3 separate regions of the Homo sapiens genome follow, and regions 1 and 3 are each linked to region 2. The links are contacts of gene promoters, found by promoter capture Hi-C in blood cells and fetal thymus (Javierre and others, 2016). All regions are on one chromosome and are shown on one strand. Each heading gives the region's core, a stretch centred on a gene start or on the middle of the fragment in contact. The rest is flanking DNA. Distances are from core to core; before and after follow the strand shown. Region 1 has its middle 51 kb from the start of N4BP3. Region 2 holds the start of PFN3 (profilin 3). Region 3 holds the start of LOC124901147 (a long non-coding RNA gene).

The links. Contacts are between HindIII fragments. The CHiCAGO score rates a contact against its expected background, and 5 or more counts as called.
Region 1: a fragment that was not itself captured here is called in contact with the fragment with the promoter of PFN3 in region 2 in 2 of 17 cell types (total B cells and naive B cells); the score reaches 9.7 in total B cells.
Region 3: a contact is called between a fragment that was not itself captured here and the fragment with the promoter of PFN3 in region 2, in 1 of 17 cell types (total B cells). The highest score is 5.7, in total B cells.

Annotation. Positions count from the first base shown.
Region 1 is chr5:178,059,998-178,064,213 of GRCh38, forward strand. It overlaps the pseudogene FAM153CP. Among named protein-coding and RNA genes, the nearest start is that of N4BP3, 51 kb to the right of the region's middle. The HindIII fragment of the contact is 9,851 bases long and covers 1-4,216 here.
Region 2 is chr5:177,397,834-177,402,156 of GRCh38, forward strand. It overlaps PFN3 (profilin 3), which reads right to left and starts at 2,828. Exons shown (of 1, transcript NM_001029886.3): 1 at 2,276-2,828. The coding sequence starts at 2,743. The coding sequence ends at 2,330. It overlaps SLC34A1 (solute carrier family 34 member 1), which reads left to right. Exons shown (of 13, transcript NM_003052.5): 13 at 1-1,015. The coding sequence ends at 453. It overlaps F12 (coagulation factor XII), which reads right to left. Exons shown (of 14, transcript NM_000505.4): 14 at 4,308-4,323. RefSeq lists a silencer at 47-222 and an enhancer at 4,137-4,323. The HindIII fragment of the contact is 6,138 bases long and covers 1,573-4,323 here.
Region 3 is chr5:178,077,893-178,082,575 of GRCh38, forward strand. LOC124901147 (a long non-coding RNA gene) reads right to left here and starts at 378. Exons shown (of 2, transcript XR_007059076.1): 1 at 115-378. RefSeq lists a cis regulatory region at 3,785-4,457. The HindIII fragment of the contact is 6,225 bases long and covers 225-4,683 here.

The sequences.
Region 1 (4,216 bases), core at 941-3,440, 660 kb after region 2:
TTTTAAGTCTCTTATTGCTTGAACCCGGGACACGGAGGTTGCAGTGAGCCAAGATCATGCCACTACAGCCTGGATGACAGAGTAAAACTCCATCTCAAAAAAAAAAAAGAAGGTCTCTTAAAAGGATAAAGGACATGCTACCTGGTAGAAGTAAACTTAGAAATACTGTCCTCTAAATGCTCGTGTTGTTTAGAGAATTAAAATATTTGGCTTAGCAGCTTGGGTTTCTAAAATGACTTCTCAAAATATTGCATTTACTAAATCTTCTTTCCTGTCCACTCATTGACTTAATTTCTGTCCTTATATGCTGTGTCTAGGACATTTAGATATAGGAGGTAAATTCTAGCACATTTTGGGAACACTGTGAATAGAGGAGCTGATAAACACATGGAGTGAAACGGGCCAAGAATTGCTGTGAATATTAAAGATAAATAAAGGCCAGTAACAGGAAAAAGAAAGGGACACACAATTCATTGATCAGATTCATAGTTATAAAAAAATGCTCTCGCTTAAAGATTATCCCATTTCTGGGAAAATGGTTATTGCTGTCTCTCTGCTCTATTTTCTACATTATCATAGCGTAAAATGAATTTTTAGGGGATGTTTACAGTTCAATGCATCTTAACAAGTGTATAGATTCATGCAACCACCACCACAAACAGGACACAGCACAGTTCCATCACCCCAAAATCTCCCTCATGCTGCCCTCCACAGTCACCCCCCACCCACCCCCACCTCCTAGCAACCACTGATCTGTTCTCCATCACTACAGTTTTGTCTTTTCAAGAATGTCATATAAATGGAATCACACAGAGTTTATAACATTTTGATATTTGGCATCTTTCTCTCTTTCTTTTTTTTTTTTTTTTTTTGACAGAGTTTTCACTATTGTTGCCCAGGCTGGAGTGCAATGGCGTGATCTCAGTTCACAGCAACATCCGCCTCCCTGGTTCAAGTGATTCTGCTGCCTCAGACTCCCGAGTAGCTGGGATTACAGGCATGTGCCACCATGCCCAGCTAATTTTGTATTTTTAGTAGAGACAGGGTTTCTCCATATTGGTCAGGCTGGTCTCAAACTCCCGACCTCAGATGATCTGCCTGCCTTGGCCTCCCAAAGTGCTGGGATTATAGGAATGAACCACTGCACCCAGACTATCTTCCTTATCTTTCAGGGCAATGCCTGATGTCATACACAAGCCAGCTCCTTCAGCTCCTTCTTACTGTCTAGATTGCCATCCGTCTTTAGCGTGATTACAGAGCATGTCTGATTGCAGTGGCAAGCATTAGGACTCACTCAGAGCCTTGTGGCTTTTCTCTTTTTTTTTTTGAGACAGAGTCTCGCTCTGTCAGCCAAGCTGGAGTGCAGTGGCGCAATCTCGGCTCACTGCAACCTCCATCTCCTGGGCTCAAGTGATTCTCCTGCCTCAGCCTCCCAAGTAGCTGGGATTACAGGCGTGTGCCACCACACCCGGCTAATTTTTGTATTTTTAGTAGAGACAGGGACTCACCATGTTGGCCAGGCTGGTCTCGAACTCCTGACCTCAGGTAATCCGCCCGCCTCGGCCTCCCAAAGTGCTGGGATTACAGACATGAGCCACCGTGCCCGGCCACCTTGTGGCTTTTCTTCTCCATGTTGAGAAGCCGTGTACCGGCCTTGACAGTGAGACTGGTGGTGGCCTGGGGAAGAGTTGGCATGTGGATAATGTGTGGTTCAGTCTGAAGCTCCTCAGCTAATGTCCCAGCTGCCTCAAGTGGTGATCAGGACAGCCTAAACTTTTAATATTTATTTATTTATTATTATTATCATTTGAGACAGGGTCTTGTTCTGTCGGCCAGGCTGGAGTGCAGTGGCACAATCGCAGCTCACTGCAACCTCTGCCTCCTAGGTTCAAGCGATTCTCCCACTTCAGCCTCCCAAGTAGCTGGGATTACAGGTGTCTGCCACCACCACACCCGGCTAATTTTTGCATTTTTGGTAGAGATGGAGTTTTGCCATGTTGGCCAGGCTGGTCTCAAACTCCTGACCTCAGGTGATTTACCCACCTTGGCCTCCCAAAGTGCTGGGATTACAGGTGTGAGCCACCGCGCCTGGCCTAAATATTTATTTATAACACTTGTTTGAATTCTTTTTGTACTTAACGCTGGCTCCATTGTGTGCAACACTGCCATCTGCCGTTAGGATTTGTGTCTGAGAACCTGGGCCCACAGTCTCGCTGCGGATGCAGAACTGGCAGAAAAGCCTACTGCACTTCCCCTGTGTGGTTAAACGACGGTGAACAAGTCCAAGGCGGAAAGAATAACCAAGTATATGCCTTAAGATCCTTTCTTGGAGGTCCCCAGGTGAAATACTAATCAGATCCTTCAGCATTTCCTCCTGTCCAAAAGGATCCTGCTGTATTCCTGTTTCTTTGTCATGAACCGATCACGGCTTTTCAATGATGCATTATCTCATTTCGACAAAATATCTGAGAGCTGGCTGGGGCACGGTGGCTCATGCCTGTAATGCCATCTCTTTGGGAGGCCGTAGAGGGAGGATTGCTGGAGACCCAGAGTTCAAGACCAGCCTGGGCAACAAAAGTGAGACCCCGTCTCTACAAAAAATATAAAAATTAGGAGGTCAAGGCAGGTGGATCACTTGAAGTCAAGAATTCAAGTTCAGCCTGGCCTACATGGAGAAACCCTGTCTCTACTAAAAATACAAAAATTAGCTGGGCATGGTGGTGCACGCCTGTAATTCCAGCTACTCGGGAGGCCGAGGCATGAGAATCACTTGAACCTGGGAGGTGGAGGTTGCAGTGAGCCATGGTTATGCCACTGCACTCCAACCTGGGTGACAGAGGCCCTGTTAAGAAAGAAGAAACAAGAAAGAGAGAGAGAGAGAGAGAGAGAAAGGAAGGAAAGAGAAGGAGAGAGATAAAGAAAAGAAGGAACAGAAGTCGAAGGAAGGAAGACACAGATAAGAGCAGCAAAATAAGAGAAGAAAAAGAAGCAGTAGAGAATCAAAAGAGCCAAAAATGGTTTCTTTGAAAAGACTAATAAAATCGACACATTTGTTAGCAACACTAATCAAAGGAGGAAGAAAGAGAACGCAATGTAAAGCTAAGATGAAAAGGGAGTACATTTCTGATTTGAACATGGCGAATTAAAGACAGGATTTCCCTCTTTTCTTTATAGGAAACAATCATAACAAGAATAAGAAGCAAGCCGGGTGCGGTGGCTCATGCCTGTAATTCCAGCACTTTGGGAGGCCGAGCTGGGAGGATCACTTGAGCCCAGGAGTTTGAGACCAACCTGGGTAACATAATGAGACCTTACAAAAAAAAATAAAATTAAATTTCAAAAACATAATTAGATACCAGTGTATCCCCAGCAGATTGACACAAATTAAAAGTCAACAGTATCCTGTGTTGGTGAAGACATACAGCAACTGGAAGTCTCCTGTGCATGTTAGCCATGTTTATACCTTTCATCTCAGCAGTTTCACTCTTAACGATATATGCTAGAGAAACTCTTACTCATGTGCTCCACAGACAGGTAGGAGGGCCCAAGGTAACCTTGTTTGTAATTAAGAAAAAATAAAAACAGGAAACAAGCCAAGTGTCCAATGGGATAATGGATTAGTAAATTGTGATACACAATGAAACTGCATATGTGCGCACATCAACATGAACGAACCCTCCAAACATAATGTTGAGGAAAAAACAAGCAAATCACAGAATACAAAAAATATATAATACCTTTGTATAAAGTTCAAAAACAAGCAAAACTAACCAATATATTCTTCAACAATATGTGCATGCATACGTAAATGTGGTAAACATGAAGAAAAGCAAGGAAGCGATAAAAGCTGAGAGCAGATTACTAGGGGGATAAGGAGGGAGAGGATGCATTTGGGAGGGGCTCACAGTGGCTTCAAAGATATACTTAGCATTCTATTTCTTCTTCTTCTTTTTTTTTTTTTTTTTTTTTTTTTTTTACCAGAGAAGGTGTTGCTCCATTGCCCAGGTTGCGATCATAGCTCATTGCAGCCTTGACCTCCTGGGCTCAAGCAATCCTCCCACCTCAGCCTCCTGAGTAGCTGGGACCACAGGCATGCACCAACATACCCAGCTAATTTTTTTTTTTTTTTTGAGACGGGGTCTTGCTCAGTCGCCCAGGCTGGAATGCAGTGGCATGATCTCAGCTCACTGCAACCTCCGCCTCCCGGGTTCACGCC
Region 2 (4,323 bases), core at 1,578-4,077:
CCGGTGCCCTGCACACGCCTGCCCATCCGCATGGCCAAGGCGCTGGGGAAACGCACGGCCAAGTACCGCTGGTTTGCCGTCCTCTATCTCCTTGTCTGCTTCCTGCTGCTGCCCTCACTGGTGTTTGGCATCTCCATGGCAGGCTGGCAGGTCATGGTAGGTGTGGGCACGCCCTTCGGGGCCCTGCTGGCCTTCGTGGTGCTCATCAATGTCCTGCAGAGTCGGAGTCCCGGGCACCTGCCCAAGTGGTTACAGACATGGGACTTCCTGCCTCGCTGGATGCACTCCCTGAAGCCCCTGGACCACCTCATCACCCGCGCCACCCTATGCTGTGCCAGGCCTGAGCCCCGCTCACCCCCGCTGCCCCCCAGGGTCTTCCTGGAGGAGCTACCCCCTGCCACACCCTCCCCCCGTCTTGCACTGCCTGCTCACCACAATGCCACCCGCCTCTAGGCTGTGGGCCCAGACTACAGCCTGGAATGGGGAAGGCCTGGGGTGGAAAGGCAGGGGAGGGAGGGTGTGTGTAGGTATGTGCATGTGCCTGTGCCACCCTGGGTGCCAGTCTCTCCTTCTGTAGCTCCGCAAAGCTCTGGGCTTGTGTGAGAGTGTCGGTGTGTGTGCATGTGTGGGGGTGAGTCTGCATGTGCACCTGTCATGTGTAGAAGCTTGTATTTGTGTACAGGTGTGCCAGCCCATGCAGGTGTACACAGACACACCTGTGGGAGGCTGTGTGCAGGCTGCAGGATATCTGGGTATGATTTCAGGTCCTCTGCACGTGTACACATGACTAGGATAGGCAGGAGTAAGGGTGGGTCTGGGTATATGACTGTGCAGCTGTTTGTGCATAGATGTTGGTGCCTGCGTTACTGAATTTGCACACCTCCTTGCCACCTTCCTTCCTCCAAGATACCATCTCCTCATCCTAACCCAGGTCTTCGGCACCACCACAATTAATTCCCTTCCCAACACTTGCCTGATGGAAAAAAAACAAAGGAATTAAAACTCTCCTCAGGCATTCGGAAGTCTTTTTGCTCTCCATCAATGGCAAAGGGAAGACCAAGCCAGGGGGTTCAGCAGCACCATCTCCCCTCAAAGACTGGCTGCAAGAGCAGCCTGCCCTGCCCAGGCCAGGTGCAGTTCCAGAGAAGCCAGCCCTGCAGGCTCACCCCAACCATCTGCCTGGCCCTACCTTAGTGAGTCCAAACCACAATTCAAACTCCCTGGAAGCCCCTCCTAGGCCTGGGGCCACCCCCAAGGCAAGTGTAAGGAGGATTCTGCACCCCCACCCCCTGACCCCCACCTGGCTGAACTTCCTCTGGTCTCCCTCTGCCCTCTAAATTCACCCACCTCAGCCACACATCACTCCTTCCTGCTGGGATAAGATCAGGGCTCCAGAATAAGTGACAGGTGGGGTCTGCCATCAGGGCCGCTGGGGGAGGGGACGGGAAGGGTGGGGGTGGGCAAGAGAGGCCATGCCCTGGGCCCCAGCACATGGAGGGCAGGGACCAGACACCCTCCCTCCCACTTTTGTCCACTATCTTTGGGCAATAAACCAGGCCTCAAACTTACCCAAGCTTTTCAATTCCCCCTCCTCCATAGGTCACCCTGAAACTGAGGCCTGCAGAGTGAGACTCCCGGGTAGGGATGCCAGAGTTCCTCCCTCTAGTCCAGGGACTCCTGCGGGGCCTTTTCGAAGGCCTGGGGAAGGCAGGATGTAAGGTCTCAAACCCAATTGCGATGGTCTTGGACATGAGCCCTCTCAGTAGGCTCCCCTTGGAGGAATGTGGGCAGAGATGCAGAGGCCTGTGAGCCCCAGAACTGCTTTACAAGCCACCAAGCCCATCCTGTCACCCACTCACAACTTGCTAGTGCTTGAGGTATGAGTGGAGGGGGGAGGAGCAAATTGGCCTCCAGCCTGACACCCTGATGGGGAGAGGTGTTCGCGGGATGGGGAGGGGGCTCCCTTTACTTGTCCTGCCTAATGTGTGGGAATATCTCTGAGAAAGGACGCTAAGGCTGAAACAGACTTTGAGAAGCCCCCACCCTTGGACTCTTCCTCAGCTGCGGAGTCCCTAGGACCCTGGGAACGCGCCAAGGAGCAGCAGTCAGGCCAGGAGCCTCTGCAAGGCGTCCATGGGAGAGCAGGGTGTAGGGCACAGGGGCCTGGCAGCCTCTAGACTCAAAATCCCGGCTCCACCAGGTAACCGTCTTGCAAAGACCAGTTTCCTTATTTACAACTCCCCCCACCGCGCAAGTGGAGGAGGAGCCAGCCGCGCCCAGGTCACAGTTTATTTGGCCCGCGCTACCAGTGGGCGGCCTGGCTGGCCGGCTAGGCGCCCTGCATGCGCAGCCCGCGTATGAGTTCGTGCACCGTCTTGTTGAGGATGCCCCCATGTACGCCGCGTCGGCCCATTAGCACCAGGAGCGCGCGCGGCGCACGGCCCACGCACACGGCGCGCGCGTCCAGCCCCTTGGTGCGTGCGTCCAGCACGCCGTCACCCTCGGCCAGCAGGTGGTCGCGGATGACGCAGCAGCGGCGGCCCCCCACGCTCAGGCCCGCCTGCAGGAAGGTGTGCCTGTCCGGCCCCGTGAGCACGCCCACCTCCTGCGGCGAGATGGCCGCCAGCAGGCCCCCGGGCCGCGAAGCCCACACGCAGCTGTTGTCCGCATGGCCCACGATGGCCACGTCGTCGATGCGCTGGTCCCGCAGCACTGCACTGATGTAGACCTTCCAGTCGCCCATCGCGCTCCGAGTGCGCCCAGCCGCCTCGCACCTCTCGGGGAAATATAGAGGCGCCACGCGGGGAAGGCCTGCGGCGCTGTGAGGCAGGCTGGGCGGGGCTGTGACGTCACACAAGGCGCCGTCCCGGAGCGACCACCCAGGCTGGGGCACGTGGGGCGTGGGCGTTTAGTGCTGTCGCAGTTCTAAGGTTATCCTGTAGGATGGGTTTGGCAGAGCGCAGCGGCTCACTCCTGTAATCCCAGCGCTTTGGGAGGCCGAGGCGGGCGGATCGCTTGAACTCAGTAGCGAGATTATAGTAAACTATTATAGGATCGTGTCGCTGCACGCCAGCCTGAGCCACAGAGCGAGGCCCCGTCTCTAAAAAAGCAAAAACAAATTTTAATTAAAAAAAATTTTTTTGAGATGAGGTCTCACTATGTTGCCCAGGCGGGTCAGGAAGTCTTGAGCTCAAACAATCCTCCCGCCTCAGCCTCTCAAAGTGACGAGATTACAGGCGTGAACCACCGCATCTGGCCAATCTATTTTTAATTTTAAAAAGCTGGTTTTGTGAAAAAAGGATGTTGTGTCTGGACAGCCAGACCTTCACTTGTAAGGGAACCAACCATTCAACCCCCAGATTGTGGTTCTTAAGCATGAGAGAACATCAGAATCCCCCGCAAGGCTGTTAAACAGATTGCTGGGCCCCACCCCAGACTTTCTGTTCAGCAGTATAAAGTGTAGCCCGAGAATTTGTTATGTGTAACAAGTTCCCTGGTGATGGTACTGCTAGCCAAGGGACTCTCAGACCCACTACACTAGTGCGTGTTGGGGTGGGGACAACGATATGTCACCCAGCCCTTAGGGTCCACGCCACAGTCAATGCTCTTTTTTTCTATTTTCTTTTTTCTTTTCTTTCTGTCTCTCTCTTTCCCTCCCTCTGTTCCTTCCTTCCTTCCTTCCTGCCGGTTCAAGTGATTCTCCTGCCTCAGCCTCCTGAGTAGCTGGGACTACAGGCGCACGCCGCCGTGCCCGGCTAATTTCTTGTATTTTAGTAGAGACGGGGTTTCATCGTGTTGCCCAGGCTGGTTTCGAACTCCTGAGCAATCCACCTGCCTTGGCCTCTTAAAGTGCTAGGATTACAGGCGTGAGCCACCGCGCCCGGCCAATGCTAAGTATTTCTAACCACGATTCTCAACCTTGGCTGTACATGGAATTATCTGGGGAGTTTTACAAATATACCACTACCCATGCCCCATCCCTAGACATACTGATTTAATTGGTCTGAGGTGGAACTTGGGCATAGATTGGCTCAAAACGCTCCCCAAGTGATCTTAATGTATGGTCTGAGAACTACTGCTCTGTAAACAAAATGTTAGTTTCTCATAAGGAATAACATGCAGCTTCTCCTTGCACAGGGCTTGGTATACAGTATCCTAGGCTCAGTAAACATTAGCTGGGCTGGCATCTAGATTTTGCACGTTAAGATCTCATAGACCTTGTTCTCTGAGAGCTGTGGAGAAGCTGTGAATCGCTTTTCTGTCTTGGCATTTCCCGGCGGGACCCATGAAGAAAAGAGCTTTCCTTCTCAGCATTTTCAAAGC
Region 3 (4,683 bases), core at 2,087-4,586, 680 kb after region 2:
CAGAAAGTGGATGTCAGACTTCGGCCACCAGGGCAGGAGCAGAACTCAGGCGTGGCACTTCACAGTTCCAGAACCCTAGGGTCTCTCAGGCTGGAGTGGGGGTGGGGCACTCACCTTTATCCAGCTGTCTCTGCTAGTCAAGCAAAAGCACTGGGCAGGCTGTTTTCTCTAAATCCTCCTGACAACACTGGGAGGTGCTCCAAGGAAGACACAGACACGTGGAAAGCTTCAAAGACGTAACTGGTCTGACCCAAACTCCTTGCTTTTCTGACACTGTATCACAAAAAAATCTTCTCCTGCCATTCCCACCAATCAATTTCATCCTAAGTTCTTCGCTTACACCAGCAGCAGCATCTTCCAGGCTTCCAGGCCAGCAGTGGAGGAGTCATTTTTAGCTCTTCCTTCTCCTTCACCCTGGCATCCCATTTGTGGGCACAGAGCCCGGCCCTAGAGGGCTGGGAGAAACCGCAGAGGGCATCCAGTTCAGCTGCCCACGTAACACTTGGATTTTCTGTAAACATTTGTGGTGAAGCTGCTGCCCAGGCTCAGCCTAAACACGGCCCCCACCTCTGTGCGAGGGAGCTCGCCACTCCCTGACATGACTGTTGCATCTTGAAACGGTTATGATGTTCAAAAGTCTGCCTCAGTTTGAGAGTAAATCTGCCTCCCTGTTGCCTCCTCTCCTCGCTCCCTGCACGCACGTCCACTGGTTCTAGTTTTTTGCGGGGGTGGTATAGAACCGATCTGACCTCTTCTCTGTCTTAGCCCTTTGAATGAGAAAGCCGTGATCAAGCCCCCAGCGGGTAAATATTCCCCATTGCTCCAGCTGGTCCTCATATGACTAGTTTCAAATCACTAGACAGTCTAGTCCCTTCTCCAATCATGCGTCAGTTCATCTAAACTGGGTGTTGCAAACTCAATGCCTAAGGGGGCCAAGCAAGCGGCATGGGTGAGTGAGACGGGTGGAGCGTAGCAATACGGAGTGGTGGGGACTGCAGCCAAGAGGTGTTTCAGCCAATTGCTGCCATGCAGAAGTGAGGCCCTGCATCCCCAGATCCTCTCGTTTTCGAATAGGAATCAGTATAATTTGGGTTTGGATTTGAAATGTTGATTTTTTGAGTTGGTTATTAGTTTTTCTTTTTTTTTTTTTTTTTCTTTTTTTTGAGACAGAGTCTCACTCTGTCACCCAGGCTGGAGTGCAGTGGTGCGATCTCGGCTCACTGCAACCTCCACCTCCCAGGTTCAAGCGATTCTCCTGCCTCAGCCTCCCACGTAGCTGGGACTACAGGCACGTGCCACCATGCCCACCTAATTTTTTGTATTTTTAGTAGAGACGGGGTTTCACCATGTTAGCCAGGATGGTCTCAATTAATTTTTCAAACACAACACACTATATGAATCAACACTGTGAAGCAAACAAAAACCTATGGGCACCATCCCAGCACTTTGGGAGGCCGAGGTGGGCAGATCACGAGGTCAGGAGATCGAGACCATCCTGGCTAACACGGTGAAACCCCGTCTCTACTCAAAATACAAAAAAATTAGCCAGGCATGATGGTGGGTTCCTGTAGTCCCAGCTACTCGGGAGGCTGAGGCAGGAGAATGGATGAACCCGGGAGGCGGAGCTTGCAGTGAGCCGAAATTGTGTCACTGCACTCCAGCCTGGGCGACAGAGCAAGACTCCATCTCAAAAACAAACAACAAAACAAAACAAAACAAAACAAACCTATGGGCACCAGTGTGCAACCTCTGGTTTACTGGCATCTTAAAATGTGCTACATAAAATTTGCTGGGTGCTGGCCGGGACAGTGGCTCATGCCTGTCATCCCAACACTTTGGGAGGCCAAGGCAGGCGGATTGCTTGAGTCCAGGAGCTTGAGACCAGCCTGGGCAACATGGCAAAACCCCATCTCTATTAAAAATACAAAAATTAGCCGGGTGTGGTGGCACTTGTCTGTAGTCCCAGCTACTTGGGAGGCTGAGGTGGGAGAATCACCTAAGCCAGGGAGGTTGAGGCTGCAGTGAGCAGAGATCACACCACTGCACACCTGCCTGGGCAACCAGAGTGAGACCCTGTCTCAAAAAGATAAATAAATAAAATTTGCTGGGTGTGGTCGCGTTGCCTGTGGTCACAGCTACTTGGGAGGCTGGGGTGGGAGGACAGATTGAGCACAGGACTTCCAAACCAACCCGCAGTGCCCTGACCAGCCAGCTGTCTCCCTCTCCCACCCCTCTTCCTCACCGAAGCCCAGGGCACCCTCATCACCCTGTTGTCAGCCCCTGCCCTAGGGACTTACTGTGGCCAGACCTCAATGCCAGGCCTGGCCCCTCCTGGAGAGCACGCAGGCCAGGGCCTTGTCTCATGCACCCATTGGCTTCTCCCCTCCTTTCTCACCCACTCCTCCACACTTTCGCTCAAGCCAAGCCTGCCTCAAGGTGCCTTCTTCCTCCCCTGCCCGCATCTTACGTCCTCTCTGAGGCCTTCCCTGGTGGCTAAGCCCACAGTGGTGTCCCTCACGTGCTTGGCCAGTACTACGTGTAAAATGGGGAGAATGACAGACCAAACTCAAAGAGTGTCTGAGGAATGAATGAGGGGACTCGGGTCAAGTGCTTGGAGTAGAAGCTGGCACACAGCAGTGCTTGATGAACATCAGAGCCATGCATTATTATTAATATCACTCTTAATATCCCATTTCATGCTGAATCCACACGCTGCCTGGTGCTCTCTTTCACATTTGCTAATCACATCTCTCCAATTGAGTGAGGAAGCAGAAAGGACCCTGGAGGCAGAGACTGGTGGACCTGGATCTGAATTCCATGTTTCCCATGTGTTACCCCAGGGAAGTCACATAACCTTTCTTGGCCTCTGTTTTTGAGTCTGTAAAATGGAGCTAATGAGTCCCCATCCTCAGGGCTGTGATAAGGATCTGATGAGGCAATGTCTGCGAAAGCTCTAAGTAAACTGGGAAGAAATGCTGTGAGAACGACCGTTGCCGGGGAGGAAATTCCAGGCCAGCCATGGTGTTGCTGGAGTCAAGGGCCAGGTGGTTCTGCTTTTGATCAGATCTAGAATGTCCACAAATGGCTAGTCTGTGCCAGACTTTTGAAGTATGAAGTACACTGTAAAGTCACCTCTAAACCTCTCCACTTGTCCCCTCCAGTCTGTCCCCGGCTGCTCTCTGCACCAACTGGCCCTTTTCATTCTCTCCTGGTATCCCAGCCTCCTGACCTCCCTTCCCAGACTCTGCCCACTTAAGTCAATCTCTGCACTGTGGCCAGCATGATCTACCTTCCTGCAGCCCATTCACTCATTCGCTCACTCATACATTACACAATTGTTTATTCAGTTATTACCAGGTGTTCTGGAAATAAAACAGACCAAAATCCCTGCCCTGATGGGTTTTACATTCTAGCAAAATACAGACTTATTATGTAACCTCTGTGCTTTAAAAACTCAACTGGTTTTCCAATTATGCTGGAGTCAACAAAAGTCTTGGCAGGGCGCGGTGGCTCACGCCTGTAATCCCGGCACTTTGGGAGGCTGAGGTGGTCAGATCACGAGGTCAGGAGATCGAGACCATCCTGGTCAACATGGTGAAACCCCGTCTCCACTAAACATACGAAAAGTAGCTGGGTGTGGTGGCACATGCCTGTAGTCCCAGCTACTCCGGAGACTGAGGCAGGAGAATTGCTTGAACCAGGGTGTCGGAGGTTGCAGTGTGCTGAGATTGCGGCACTGCACTCCAGCCTGGTGACAAAGCCAGACTCAGTCTCAGAAAAAAAAAAAAAAAGTCTTGAGCGTAGCCTCCAGGACAGTTTGTGGTCAGCCTCTGCTCCCTTTCAGCTCCCTCCCCGCCTTCCCAGAAGGGAAGGCTGCCTTGGGCTCCAGGTGGGCCACGCCCCTTCAGACGCAGTGACCTTGCTTTGGTTGTTTTCGCAGTCTGGAAAGTCCTCTTTTAAGTTACAGGTTGCTGAATGTTTTCTCCGTAGAGGAGTTTATTCTCAGTCTGGCCTGGTAGCCCAGGTCAGGGGCCTCTCCTCCCCTGAGGTGTGCAGACAGACAAGTCACCCGGAGGCTCCTGACAAGGACTCTGCTTGACCCAATATTAGTCGGGCCCCTGAGGCTTCTCCTAGACCCATCTGTGTGCTTCCTTATACAATCCAGTTTTAGCAAGAACCCTGCTAGCTCACTGTGGCAGAAACCCCCCACCCTCCATATCTGATCACCCTTGATATCTGGTCAGGCTTCTCCTCCCCATCACCCCTCTGGTGATGTCTGGTCACCCTAGCCTGTCTTCAGCTAGAATCGTGTTAGGTGAGTTTAGCTAGAATCCCCGACCCCTGATGTTGCTCTTAGTAATTCCCCATCCCCTGGCCCCCACCCTGCTCCTTGGCTATCACCCCCCACTCGCCCATGCTGTACTGGGAGTTGAGCCCAGTCTCTCTCCCCAACTGCAAGAGCCCACTCCAGCAGTTCCTGTGTCTATCTCCATGGTCCTGAATAAAGTCTGCCTTACTGTGCTTTTTTTTCTTTTTTTTTTTTTTTTTTGAGATGGAGTCTCACTGTGTCACCTAGGCTGGAGTGCAGTGGCGCGATCTTGGCTCACTGCAGCCTCCGCCTCCCAGGTTCAAGTGATTCTCTGCCTCAGCCTCCCGAGTAGCTGGGATTACAGGCACATGCCA